4 separate regions of the Homo sapiens genome follow, and all the other regions are linked to region 3. The links are contacts of gene promoters, found by promoter capture Hi-C in human tissues and cell types (Jung and others, 2019). All regions are on one chromosome and are shown on one strand. The core of a region is centred on a gene start or on the middle of the fragment in contact, and the rest is flanking DNA. Distances in the headings are between cores, read along the strand shown. Region 1 overlaps MAPK1 (mitogen-activated protein kinase 1). Region 2 overlaps HIC2 (HIC ZBTB transcriptional repressor 2). Region 3 holds the start of PPIL2 (peptidylprolyl isomerase like 2). Region 4 holds the start of MAPK1 (mitogen-activated protein kinase 1).

Evidence for each region. The method cuts DNA at HindIII sites, captures the fragments that hold promoters and counts their contacts. A contact is called where the count stands out against the background at its distance.
Region 1: a fragment that was not itself captured here is called in contact with the fragment with the promoter of PPIL2 in region 3 in 1 of the 25 tissues and cell types used here (dorsolateral prefrontal cortex).
Region 2: a fragment that was not itself captured here is called in contact with the fragment with the promoter of PPIL2 in region 3 in 3 of the 25 tissues and cell types used here (H1 embryonic stem cells, IMR-90 fibroblasts and dorsolateral prefrontal cortex).
Region 4: a contact is called between the fragment with the promoter of MAPK1 here and the fragment with the promoter of PPIL2 in region 3, in 2 of the 25 tissues and cell types used here (IMR-90 fibroblasts and psoas muscle).

What each region holds. Positions count from the first base shown.
Region 1 is chr22:21,801,821-21,805,058 of GRCh38, forward strand. All of the region lies in intron 3 of MAPK1 (mitogen-activated protein kinase 1), which reads right to left. Among named protein-coding and RNA genes, the nearest start is that of MAPK1, 64 kb to the right of the region's middle. The HindIII fragment of the contact is 6,513 bases long and covers 1-3,238 here.
Region 2 is chr22:21,443,968-21,447,309 of GRCh38, forward strand. It overlaps HIC2 (HIC ZBTB transcriptional repressor 2), which reads left to right. Exons shown (of 3, transcript NM_015094.3): 3 at 955-3,342. The coding sequence ends at 2,776. Among named protein-coding and RNA genes, the nearest start is that of TMEM191C, 22 kb to the right of the region's middle. The HindIII fragment of the contact is 7,132 bases long and covers 1-3,342 here.
Region 3 is chr22:21,663,868-21,667,494 of GRCh38, forward strand. PPIL2 (peptidylprolyl isomerase like 2) reads left to right here and starts at 2,145. Exons shown (of 20, transcript NM_014337.4): 1 at 2,145-2,264. The coding sequence starts at 2,233. RefSeq lists enhancers at 2,077-2,987, 2,222-2,461, 2,532-2,581. The HindIII fragment of the contact is 22,549 bases long and covers 1-3,627 here.
Region 4 is chr22:21,866,395-21,869,733 of GRCh38, forward strand. It overlaps MAPK1 (mitogen-activated protein kinase 1), which reads right to left and starts at 1,251. Exons shown (of 9, transcript NM_002745.5): 1 at 928-1,251. The coding sequence starts at 1,046. RefSeq lists a silencer at 1,182-1,421. The HindIII fragment of the contact is 55,514 bases long and covers 1-3,339 here.

The DNA.
Region 1 (3,238 bases), core at 194-2,693, 140 kb after region 3:
CAGAAATGTTATATGCTTAAAATATTGATTGAGAATGTCTCTCCAAAAACAAAAGCAATCTGCCATAACAGGGCTATGATGATAACCAAAAGAAAAAAAAAACACGAGGAGACATAAAAATATTCACTGCAAATTTTCAAGACAATCATTAAGTGCCAAAGAAGTAGTACAGCCATCCTAAACATAGCTTTATTCGTTTTGTGCCCACCTGACTCTTGGTTGCACTGATCCAGGTAAAGGAGCTGGTTCCATCCCATGTGGAAAAGACATAAACCTGTATCAGAAGGATCCTAAGAGGGGACAGAGTCCAATCCACACAATATCTGATGAAGGAAGCTGTCCTTTACATCTCACTGGACATTGGCCACCGTGTTCACCCACCGTGACAAAACCCACCGCTTTTTACACACAGTTCTAGAAGGTTCCCCACGATCTACTTGCAACCAACCTTTTTAGCTTAGTGTCGATGACTCCCTATTACTCATCCAATGCTGCAGCCACAGGGAGGAAGACTCAGTGCTTTCGGTAGTAGTCCCTTCCTTCTTATTTTATTTCTGTACTCTCTGCCTATGATACCCTATGTCCAATAGAGCCACTGGCCTCCCGCAAGAAAAGCTACCCAACCTCGAGGGCCGGCACAGATACCACCTTCTTCCTGCTGCCTCCCAGTCCCAGCCAGCGCTAGCCCACCTCTCTCCTTTGCATTTGTACACCATCTTTTTCTCCATCTCAGTTACAGAACATCTCATTATAATCACCTACTGTCTACCAGATTTCTGATCTATCAGTTTTCAGATTTCAAGGGCAGACCCTCATCTCTCTTGTCTGGCGTATCTCAAAGGGCTTCTCATAGGAGTGTCTGTTGAACTGAAATCCAATAAATGATTATTGCTATACATATATATGTACTTAAGCAGCTTTATTAACCTATAATTCACACACCATACAATTTGCTCATTTAAAGTGTATAACTCAATGGTTTTAGTATTATAATGGTGGAAATTAACCATTACCACCATCCAATTTGAAAATATTTTTATAACCTCAAAAAGAAATTCCAGTGAGTTAGTATTCCTTCCTTCTTTATTCTCCCAACTCCTCTAGCCCTAGGCAATCAGTAATCCACTAATTCTAATTTTTGTCTCTATGGATTTGCCTATTCTAGACATTTCACGTAAACAGAATCATACAATATGTGTCTTCTGTGGCTGCCTTCCTTCACAGACATGTTTCCAAGATTCATCCATGTTGTAGCATTATCAGTACTTCACTCCTTTCTCTTCTACTGTGTGGATCCACCACACTGTATTTATTCATCATCAGCTGGACATTTGGATTGTTTCTACTTACTGGCTATAGTGAACAATACCACTATGAAGATTTGTGTTCAAGTTTTTGTATAGATGCATGTTTTCATTTTCACTAAGGAGTGGAATCCTCACCAACACTTATTATCTGACTTTTTAACTACAGCCATCCTAGTTAGCATGAAGTTGTTTCAATGTAATTTTGATTTGCATTTTTCTACTGACTAATGATGTCAAGCATCTATCATTCCATGTGCTTATTGCCATCTGTATATCTTCTTTAGAGAAATGTCTATTCAGATCCTTTGTCCATTTTTTAAACTAGGCTATTTATCTTTTCATTATTGAGTTATAAGAGTTCTTCATATATTCTAGTTTTAAGTCCCTTATCAGATGTATGATTTGCAAATACCTTCTCTCATTCTGTGGCTTGCCTTTTCACTTTTTTGATGGTTTGCTTTGTAGCACAAGTTTCTAATCTTGATGGAATCCACTTACTTTTTTCTTTTGTTGCTTGTGCTTTTGGTGTCATGTCTAAGAAGCTTTGCCTAACATAAGATTGCAAAGATTTACTTCTATGTTTTCTAAGAGTATTAAAGTTTTAGCTTTTAATTGAGTTCTTCAATCCATTTTGAATTTTTTTTTCCTTTTGAGACAAGGTCTCACTCTGTCACCCCAGATGGAGTGCAGTGGTGCAATCTCTGCTCACTGCAATTTCCACCTCCCAGGCTCAAGCAGTCCTCCCACTCAGCCTCCTGAGTAGCTGGGACCACAGGCACATGCCACCACGCCCAGATTAATTTTTTTGTATTTTCGGTAGAGATGGGGTTTTGCCATGTTGCCCAGGCTGGTCTTGCTCCGGAGCTCAGGCAATCCACAGGCCTTGGCCTCCCAAAGTGCTGGGATTACAGGCGCGAACCACTGCACCCAGCCATTTTGAGTTAATTTTTTCATCTTTTTGTATGTGGCTATTCAGTTGTCCCAGATTCATTTGCTGAAAAGACTATTCTTTCCCCAGTGAATGGTCCTGGCATCCTTGCCAAAAATCAGTTGACCATAGATACACGGGTTTATTTACTGACTCTCACTTCTATTCCACTGACCTATATGTCTATTCTTATGCCAGTAGCACACTGTCTTGATTACTGTGTTTTGCAGTAAGTTTTGAAATCAGGAAGTGTATCAGTTCTCCATATGAATTTCCATATGAATTTTGGGATCAGCCTGTCAATTTCTACAGAAAAAAACAACTGGGGGCTTTGATAGGGATTGCACTAAATCTGCAAATCAATTTGGAGAATACTGCCATCTTAACAGTATTAAGTCTTATGATCCACAGACATGGGATGCCTTCCCATTTATTTAGGTCTTCTTGAATTCCTGTGCATTTTTTTAGACTGAATCGACATCGCTCCGTCACATCTAAGATATCCATAAATTTCCCTCGTTTACCTGTAACACCCATTAAAACAGAAATATGTAAATGCTGCATATTTTCAGAACTCTGAGGACTGTAAAGAATTTGGGGTTTTCTTATTTAGTTGGAATGCCTTATTAGGTATTAAAGTCAGTGACGTTAAGTTTTCTGCTGCTATCTTTTGAATAAAATTTATTGAAGAAAAATGTCACCAACAAAACATGATTTTAAAACTAACACATAAGGCCAGGCGCGGTGGCTCACGCCTGTAATACCAGCACTTTGGGAGGCCAAGGTGGGCGGATCACAAGGTCAGGAGATTGAGACCATCCTGGCTAACACGGTGAAACCCCATCTCTACAAAAATACAAAAACAAAGAAAAATTAGCCAGGCGTGGTGGCAGGTGCCTGTAGTCCCAGCTACTCGGGAGGCTGAGGCAGGAGAATGGCGGGAACCTGGGAAGCAGAGCTTGCAGTGAGCTGAGATCGCGCCACTGCACTCCAGCCTGGGTGA
Region 2 (3,342 bases), core at 136-2,635, 220 kb before region 3:
CTCCCACTGTGGGGTGCCTGGTCCATGGCAGAGGAGGCTGCTCAGTGGGGATGGGAAGCGTGGCGAGGAGCACCCGCTCAGAACCCCATGTCTTGCTGCTGCATAAGCAGGAACACACCTGGGCCGTCAGAGTTCCTGCAGAGACCAGCGGCGTCAGTGTGCTTCTTGCTTACTGATCTCAGTTAGTGCCTGTGCCATTCTGTGTGATGGAGGCCAGCTGTCCACCTTTCCTAGGCCCAGATGGTGCTGCCCTTCCTAGAGAGGACGGAGGGTTCAGGTGGTGCCAGGTGCTTGGCCTAAGCTACCTTTCCTCCTTGGCAGCTGGAAGCCCAGGCTGGGGCAGCACTTGGCGCCCGCCCAGAGTGCGAGGCAGCCCAGGGCCTTGGGGAGAGGCAGGGCTGGCTGCAGGCTGACTGCAGCATCTGGGAGGCAGCAACATGACTGCTGGCAGTTTGATTTGGGCCCTGCCGTATTTCAAAAGGAACCACCATTTAGTTTTGGGGGATTTTTGCCAGCTTTCAAGACAAGCTCCTCTCACGGAGTCCTCTGCTTCCCGAAGTTTAAAGCCATCTGGTCATTTTTGGGTCCCCTTCTGGTCCCTGAGGGTTGACTTCATTTAGTGTAGAGACAGTAGCCCGGGCTGTGAAACCAAATGCAAATCCCAGTTTCTCTATTTGTCCCCTCATCACCCTCCACCTCCATTTTCTCATTAGTGCAAATGGGGCAGGGGCCTCTGTCCCTTCTCAGTTTGAGTCCTCAGTGAGGTGACACGTGTACTGCGCCTGCATGTGGTGGGCATTGTGGGCTTATGTGCCGTGTACTGTGCCGCAGGGGCTCCTGCCCTATGTGGGGTCAGTTCTGAGGCCCTTTGCCTCGTCGAGCCCCACCCTGCCCCAGAGCCCTGGTCCGAGTGTGCCAGTCATCTGACGCATGCGTGCCTGTTCTTGCCCACAGGTGGTGCGCGTGGGCAGGGCGCGGGGACATGGGGCCCGACATGGAGCTGCCCAGCCACTCGAAGCAGCTCCTGCTGCAGCTGAACCAGCAGAGGACCAAGGGCTTCCTGTGTGACGTCATCATCATGGTGGAGAACTCCATCTTCCGGGCCCACAAGAACGTCCTAGCCGCCAGCAGCATCTATTTCAAGTCCCTGGTCCTGCACGACAACCTCATCAACCTGGACACAGACATGGTCAGCTCCACAGTGTTCCAGCAGATCTTGGACTTCATCTACACAGGCAAGCTGCTGCCCAGCGACCAGCCAGCCGAGCCCAACTTCAGCACCCTCCTCACTGCCGCCAGCTACCTCCAGCTGCCCGAGTTGGCAGCCCTCTGCCGCCGCAAACTCAAGCGAGCCGGCAAGCCCTTTGGCTCTGGGAGGGCGGGGTCCACTGGCATGGGGCGGCCCCCCCGCAGCCAGCGGCTGTCCACGGCCTCTGTCATCCAAGCTCGGTATCAGGGGCTCGTGGATGGGCGCAAGGGGGCCCACGCCCCCCAGGAGCTCCCCCAAGCCAAAGGCTCAGACGATGAACTCTTTCTTGGTGGCTCTAACCAGGATAGCGTGCAAGGTCTGGGCCGGGCTGTCTGCCCAGCTGGCGGGGAGGCGGGTCTGGGGGGCTGCAGCAGCAGCACCAACGGGAGCAGCGGGGGCTGCGAGCAGGAGCTGGGCTTGGACCTGTCCAAGAAAAGCCCACCCTTGCCCCCTGCCACCCCAGGTCCCCACCTCACTCCCGATGACGCAGCCCAGCTGAGCGACAGCCAACATGGCTCGCCCCCTGCGGCCTCTGCTCCTCCCGTTGCCAACAGTGCCTCTTATTCTGAGCTGGGGGGCACCCCTGATGAGCCCATGGATCTGGAGGGGGCCGAGGACAACCACCTGAGCCTGCTGGAGGCGCCTGGTGGGCAGCCTCGGAAGAGCCTCCGGCACTCCACTCGGAAGAAGGAGTGGGGCAAGAAGGAGCCTGTGGCTGGCTCCCCCTTTGAGCGGAGAGAAGCAGGGCCCAAGGGTCCCTGCCCGGGAGAGGAGGGTGAGGGGGTCGGGGACAGGGTTCCCAATGGCATCCTGGCTAGTGGGGCTGGCCCTAGCGGGCCCTATGGGGAGCCCCCCTACCCCTGCAAGGAGGAGGAGGAGAACGGCAAGGATGCAAGTGAAGACAGTGCGCAGAGCGGGAGCGAGGGGGGCAGCGGCCATGCCAGCGCCCACTACATGTACCGGCAGGAGGGCTACGAGACGGTGTCCTACGGGGACAACTTGTATGTGTGCATTCCCTGCGCCAAGGGCTTCCCCAGCTCTGAGCAGCTCAATGCGCACGTGGAGACTCACACGGAGGAAGAGCTGTTCATCAAGGAAGAGGGGGCCTACGAGACAGGCAGTGGGGGTGCCGAGGAGGAGGCCGAGGACCTGTCAGCACCCAGTGCGGCCTACACGGCTGAGCCCCGGCCCTTCAAGTGTTCGGTCTGCGAGAAGACCTACAAGGACCCAGCCACGCTGCGGCAGCACGAGAAGACGCACTGGCTGACACGGCCCTTCCCCTGCAACATCTGTGGCAAAATGTTCACGCAGCGCGGCACCATGACGCGTCACATGCGGAGCCACCTGGGCCTGAAGCCCTTCGCCTGCGATGAGTGTGGCATGCGCTTCACCCGTCAGTACCGCCTCACGGAGCACATGCGTGTGCACTCGGGCGAGAAACCTTACGAGTGCCAGCTGTGCGGGGGCAAGTTCACCCAGCAGCGCAACCTCATCAGCCACCTGCGCATGCACACCTCCCCCTCCTAGAAGCCAAAGACCCGCGGGCGCCCTCTGCCACCTTGCTCCCCGGGAACCCATGGAAGGAGAAGCGAGGTGATGCAGCAGCAGGGGCAAGACCCTGGGTCCAGTGGAGGCTCCGGGTGGCCCCTCTGGCCCCCACTGCCCACACCCAGAGCTTTAATGGACAGTCCGTACCAAGCAGAGCCGAGAGGAGGGAAGCCAGGGGTCCCAGCCCGTCTACCTCCCCATCCCACCCAGGCCCCCAGCTCCCCGCGGGGGCCACCGCAGGGCCTGTGGGCTGGGTCACGTGGGTCTCGCTGGGACCTGGTCCCTTTGTTGCAGGCGGCTTGGAGAAAGGGCAGTGGGACGCTGGCCACGGCCAGGGTGGTGTCGGGAGCAGGCCTCACCCCGCTGGCCGTGTCTGTGTGTGTGCACGTGTGCTTGTGTCTGTGCGGGCGCGTGCAGCCCTGGTTCTGCAGGGAACAGGTGCTGGGGGTGCAGATCCCTCCCTCCTTGAGCCAGGGTGGCACTGTTCACTGGCGCTGGGACAGTCAGGGTGACCCCACCGCCTACCTCTCTACATCTAAAGAGCC
Region 3 (3,627 bases), core at 895-3,394:
TGGAATCACAGGTGCTGCCACCATGCTGGGCCTAAGATTCCAGCCCTTAAGGAGCTACATCCCATCCACTGTATGTGTGTCATGGAGGCAGTGGTTGTGTCAGGGAGGGTGCTCAGTAAACCGGGACACAGACTGAATTACACAGGATTACAAATTGTGAGGAATTGTGACAGACTTTATGGGAGATGCATGGAAGTGGGTGGTTAGGGAAGGTCTCTCTGGGGAGGTGACACTTATGTTAAAACCTAGAGAATAAGAAGCCAGCCATGAAATAAGGCAAAGATAGCTGGCTTTCGGTGACTGGGTGGATGGTGGTACTGCTCAGCAGAGTGGGGACTGGGAGAAGAGGGAGGATTGAAAATTCTGCTTTATGGCCGGGTGCGGTGACTCATGCATGTAATCCCAGGACTTTGGGAGGGCTGAGGCGGGAGGATCACCTGAGGTCGGGAGTTCGAGACCAGCCTGACCAACATGGAGAAACCCCTTCTCTACTAAAAATACAAAATTAGCCAGGCGTGGTGGCGCATGCCTGTAATAATCCCAGCTACCTGGGAGACTGAGGCAGGAGAATCGCTTGAACCTGGGAGGCGGAGGTTGCAGTGAGCCAAGATCACACCATTGCACTCCAGCCTGGGCAACAAGAGCAAAACTCCATGTCAAAAAAAAAAAGAAAAAAAAAAAGAAAATTCTACTTTGACCAGACATGTTAATTTAATTTTTTTAGGCAGAGTCACTCTGTCACCCAGGCTGGGATGCAGTGGCCTAATCTTGGCTCACGGCAACCTCTGCCTCCCCAGTTCAAGCTACTGTCTCGGCCTCCCAAGTAGCTGGAATTACAGGTGTGTGCCACCACACCAGGCTAATTTTTTGTATTTTTAGTAGAGATGGGGTTTTGCCATGTTGGCCAGGTTAGTCTTGAACTCCTGACCTCAAGTGATCCGCCTGCCTCAGCCTCTCAAAGTGCTGGGATTGGCCGGGCGTGGTGGCTCACGCCTGTAATCCCGGAACTTTGGAAGGCCAAGGCAGGCGAATCAGGAGGTCAGGAGATCGAGACCATCCTGGCTAACATGGTGAAACCCCGTCTCTACTAAACACACACACACACACACACACACACACACACACAAAGTGCTGGGATTACAGGCGTGAGCCACCACGCCCATCCAGACATGTTACATTTCAGATCAGTGGTTACCCAAGTGGAGATCAGGAACCTGGAGTGCTGGTGACTTAGTACTGGGAGTCATGGGATACAAATGGCATTTAAAATTAGGAGCCTAGGCAAGATTACCCTGGGCCTGAGTGTAGCTAGGGGCCCAAGGTACTGATCTGACCCAAGGGAAGGGTCTGGCAGAAGAGACGGAAGGGATCAGGTAGGGCTTTGGACCTCTAGGCTTGATGGCCACCTGCTGCTGGGCCTCCGAGGGGCCTGGAGGCGGTGGGGACCGAATATGCAGAGAGAATGAGAAGTGAGCGAGTAGAACGAGAGTGGTACATGGCTTTGAAGGCATCTGCCACGGAGGCGGGAAGGGATGGGGTGGAGGCTCATGAGACTTGAAGCTCTAGGAGGACGTTGAAAAAGACCTGAGCGCTGGCCGGGCGCGAAGCCTCAGGCCTGTAATCCCAGCACTTTGGGAGGCCAAGGCGGGAGGACTGCTTGAGCTCAAGAGCTCCAGACCAGCCTGGGCAACATTGTAAGAGCCTGTCTCTACAAAAAATTAACAAATTAGCCGGGTGTGGTGGTGCGTGCCCGTAGCTACTCGGGAGGCTGAGGTGGGAGAATCGCTTGAGCCTGGGAGGTCGAGGCAGTAGTGAGCTGTGATTGTGCCACTGCACTCCAACCTGGGCGACAGAGCGAGACCCTGTCTCGAAAATAAATAAATAAGACCTGAGAACCCAGTATGGGAATGGCCCTGAGCCGTGGCTAGGGGGGTAGACAAGGCGGTCCAGACAGACCCCTCAAGAAGATGGGGCTTCGAGGCTGAGGGAGCTCGGCCCCGAAAAGACGCCTGCGGGAGATGGCACACCTAGCTAGGACCCCATACTGGGCAGGCGATCCTTCCGAGCATGAGCACCTGGCGCTAGCGAACCACAATTCCCAGCACGCCAGGCGCCCGTTTCCGGGGCGCGCCGCGGAACCCGGAAGTGGTCACGGAACTCGGCTGCGGCTCCATGGTCTGAGTTGTCAGCCGTTGTTTTTTCGTGCTCGCTAGTCGCCGCCGCCGCTCCGCCATGGGGAAGCGACAGCACCAAAAGGACAAAATGTAAGTTGAGCCGCAGTCGGGAGCGGCGCTCCACTCTGCCTCAGTGAACCGCCTGTCCCGCACTGCGCGCCGCTCGCCTTCCCTCTCAGCTACTCCCCAGAGCACAGCCCAAAGGTCACTTCCTCCCGGAAGCTGCCGCCCTGTCTCCAGTCAGGGTAATGACCCTCGGGCCGCCGCGCTCTCCCGGGGCCGCGGCTCCGATGACGTCAGCTGCGGGCTCGAGCGCAGCCCGGTTTTCCTTACTCTGGTTCTGCCCGGACCGTCCCCCGTCTGTTCGCGAGTTTCGCCCTTGAATGAGTAGTCTCTACCTCTTCCGTACTTCACGTCTCGCTGTGTTCTGGTTCATGCCTATCAGCCTGCAAACGTGCTGCAGAGCCTTCTAATTTAAAGCAAACCAGGTCGGGCGCAGTGGCTCACCTGTAATCACAGCACTTTGGGAGGCCGAGGCGGGCGGATCACCTGAGGTCAGGAGTTCAAGACCAGCCTGGCTAATACGGTGAAACCCCGTCTCTACTAAAAATACAAAAATTAGCGGGGCGTGGTGACGGGCGCCTGTAATCCTAGCTATTTGGGAGGCTGAGGCAGGGGAATCGCTTGAACCCGGGAGGCGGAGGTTGCGGTGAGCCGAGATCGTGTCACTGCACTCCAGCCTGGGCGACAGAGCGAGACGCTGTCTCAAAAATAATAAATAAAATTTAAAAATCCACCCGTGCCCCGTGCCCCACGTCCCACGTTCCCCTCCCGCTGCCGCCGTGTTGTTTCTCTTAAGAACAAGTGAGAGACTAGTGGCTTCATGCTGTTTTCTGAGTCTCTTGAAACCACTCAAGTCAGAATTTCGACCCCAGAACTGTTGGGCTTCTCAACAGTATGTCACACCGTTGACCACTCCCTCTTTCTGAAGCCCTCCTTTGGTATCTGGGATTTCACCTGCTCTTTGTTTTCTCTCGACTTCAGCGGCCTCTCTTTTCAGGTTCCCAGCGACTTCTTGTTGCTAAATATAGTATTCAATCCTCAGTCCTCATTTTTTTTTTTTTTTTTTTTTGAGACGCAGTTTCGCTCTTGTTGCCCAAGCTAGAGTGCAATGGTGAGATCTTGGCTCACCGCAACCTCCGCTTCCCGGCTTCAAGAGATTTTCCTGCCTCAGCCTCCCGAGTAGCTGGGATTACAGGCATACGCCACCATGCCCAGCTAATTTTGTATTTTTAGTAGAGAAGGGGTTTCTCCATGTTGGTCAGGCTGGTCTCGAACTCCTGACCTCAGGTGATCCACCTGCCTCGGCCTCCCAAAGTCCTGGGATTACAGGCGTGAGCCACCGCGTCTGGGCAGCCTCAGTCCTCATTTTGTTGGGCTTCTCAACAGTATG
Region 4 (3,339 bases), core at 1-2,500, 200 kb after region 3:
AAAAAAAACCGTCACTATCATTTCACTTTTCTAAGGGACCTGAATCAAGATGAGGGAGTCTACGTGTGATTCTGCAAGAACTCCATTAAGGCTGCATACATAATGACCACTAAATCATTAACAGGAGTCCATAGCAATTGGGCTAAAACATCTGGGAGCATTTATGCTGGTAAAAGAGCTCACTTGGGGGCTAAAAAAAAAGTCAAATTAGGCCCAACTCTAAACGGATCTTTAACAAATCAAGAGAGTAATGTTAGTTTATCCTTCCTGAAACGCCAGCAGTACGATATTAAAATCCACTTAGAAGTAAAAACTTCAAGACGGAAATATGCCACCAACACTGGCGTCAGTAATCCATTTTAGAAAGCCTGCGCGGAGACCACCATTAGCACCGCTGAGGATATTTAATGAAAGCCGTTGGCTGCAAACAGAGGCGAAGAGAGAAAAACGATTATTTCGGTGTTCTGCACACACGCGGAGGCAAAACGCTTTCAGGACCTCAGCAGCCACCGCCGCCAACACCGACAAGCATCTGATGGAATTCACAGTTTTACAATCGAAAGTCCAAAAGAAGGCCATGATACTAGCAAATTGAGGGGTGGGGACCCTTCCGTTGCCTTCCCGAGGGTCCAGACTTTAAAGGCCGCGCTGCGCCCGGGGCCAAGGGTCCACTAGTACCGGCCTACGCCCCCCGCGCCACTCCCTGAGCCCCTTCCCGAGCGACCGAAGGCCCGGGAACCGCGAGCAACAACACCTAAACCTCAACCGGCCCGGGGCCGCGCCCGAGCCCTGGCGCGCGGACCGCGGTGAAGTCCGGGTTCGAGGTCGCCGCGGCGCCTGAGGCCGAGGCGCGGGCGAGGCCGAGGCTGCGTCCGCTGCGGCCCCGGGCGGTGGGGGGGCCGGGCGTGGCCGGTCGCGGACACTCACCACACCATGCCGTAGGCGCCCTCGCCGATGTACGAGAGGTTGGTGTAGCGCGGCCCCACGTCGAACACCTGCCCGCGGACCATCTCCGGGCCCGCGCCCGCCGCCGCCGCCGCCGCCATGTTGGCTGCCGGGCCGCCGCCGCCTCCGCCGCGCTGAGCTCGACGCTCGGCGGCCGCCGCTCAGCTCTTGTCGCCCCTCCCGCAGGGACTGCGCCGCCGCCGGTGCAGCCGCCGACGCTGACCGGGAGGAGGAAGGAAGACGCCGAGCGGGAGAGCTGAAGAGCCGACAGCCACTCGGACCGATTGCCTGCCTGCCTGCCAGACTGACGGGCGGGCCGGCGGGCGGGCGGAGGGAGGGGCGCGCGCCGAGGAGGGTGCCGGGGCGGGGACAAGAAGTGTGCATGCGGATTGGTTCCTCGCGGCTGGGGGCGGGGCCGCGCGGGCCGGCGGAAGCGGCGGGCTTCGGGAGGGGCACTGCGACGGCGTTGACTGAGGGGGCGCCACTAGGCGCGGTCACGTGCATTCGCGGTGCATTCGCGGGGGCGTCGGTGCGGGTCGCGTCTCTTAAGACACCCAGGGAGACAGACGTGGGGCAGAACTCATGGGCTGAAGTGAGAGATGGCTGGGGCCCAGGCGAGCGACCGAGCAGGGTCCGAACAGAGCCAGCGAGGGACCCCGGGCTGTGCTTGAGGCCCGACGACGCGCCATATCCCGGCAGCGCCGCAGCTCAGGCCTCTGCGAATCTGTGGTCCACACGCTGATAAACTTAGAGGCCTCTGCACTGGGGCAGAAACCGAAAGGCATGACCCAGACCGAGAAAGATATTTGCATACTGAGAAAGTGTGAAACACAATTGTCGAGACTAAAAGGAGACACTGAGAGGATACGCCAATCAGGTTAGTTCAGATGTTTGTTGAGCACACTCCATGTTCCTGGGGATCCACCCTTATAGAAGTTACCTTTTAGAGAGAGGAGACAGACAAATACGTGTAATGCTCAAGTTGTGATAAGTACGATGAAGAAGTACAAAGCAGAAGGGAGGGCGCGGTGTCTCACGCCTATCATCCCAGCACTTTGGGAGGCCGAGGCGGGCGGATCACTTGAGGTCAGGAGTTTGAGACCAGGTCTCTACTAAAAATACAAAAATTAAGTCCGGGCGAGGTGGCTCACGCCTGTAATCCTAGCACTTTGGGAGGCCGAGGCGGGCGGATCACGAGGTCAGGAGTTCAAGACCAGCCTGGCCAACATGGCGAAACCCTGTCTCTACTAAAAATACAAAAATTAGCCGGGCGCAGTGGTGGGCGCCTGTCATCCCAGCTACTTGGGAGGCTGAGGCAGGAGGACAAAGCAGAGAGTAAGGGATTAGGGGGTGGTGGGTCGAAACACATGAGAGATACATTTGCGTTCAGAGACAGACCGAGATTGGTACAGATAGGCAGAAATGCTGACAGAGCAGGTAATGAAATAGAAATGCAAAGATAGAGTCACTAAAACCAAAACATCGAGGTTTAGAGAAAAAGAGACACACCAGGTTAAGAAACAGTCACAAACAACAGAGGTTGAAAAAATAAAAATTAGAGTCCTGAAGCAGGTGGATACCAAGGAAAGCTAAGACAACGAGACGGACAATGACCCAGGCACTGCTTCTGAACCTTTTCCCCTGCCATGTTTGGAGGGAGAAGGAAGAGCGGCAGACCCTATATCCTCTTTGTTCAACTCTTCCAAGTTTAAAACCATCAACTCTTGACTTCTAGACATCAACAAAGATTAATTAGTCAATCTCAAAGGAGAATAAACAAAGTTTTTTGTTTGTTTGTTTGTTTAACTCTCTGGTGGAAGCTGGTGTGGTGGCTCACGCCTGTAATCCCAACTTGGGCCCAAGAATTCAAGACTAGCCTGGGCAACACAGCAATACCCTGTCTCTAAAACAGAGAAACAAACAAACAAAAAATCCTGTGGGGGAAAAAGGATGTGACACATGAGAAAAGGAATAAACTGCTCCAGCCAAAATTTACTCCTTCAAAATATATTTAGCCCATGAAGCAGGACCCAATTTTAGAAAATACCTAATTCTTGAGTTAATGGGTGCAGCACACCAGCATGGCACATGTATACATATGTAACTAACCAGCACATTGTGCACATGTACCCTAAAACTTAAAGTATAATAATAATAATAAAAAGAAAATACCTAATTCTTATTCTCAAAAGAGGACATTGCATATTTTTTTAAAAAACAGGCCAAGATAAATGGAGTACCATGAAATTAAAACCACAATAACCGGCCGGGCGCGGTGGCTCACGCCTGTAATCCCAGCACTTTGGGAGGCGGAGGAGGGCAGATTGCCCAAGCTCAGAAACTGGGGACCAGCCTGGGCAACATGGTGAAACCCCGTCTCTACTAAGATACAAA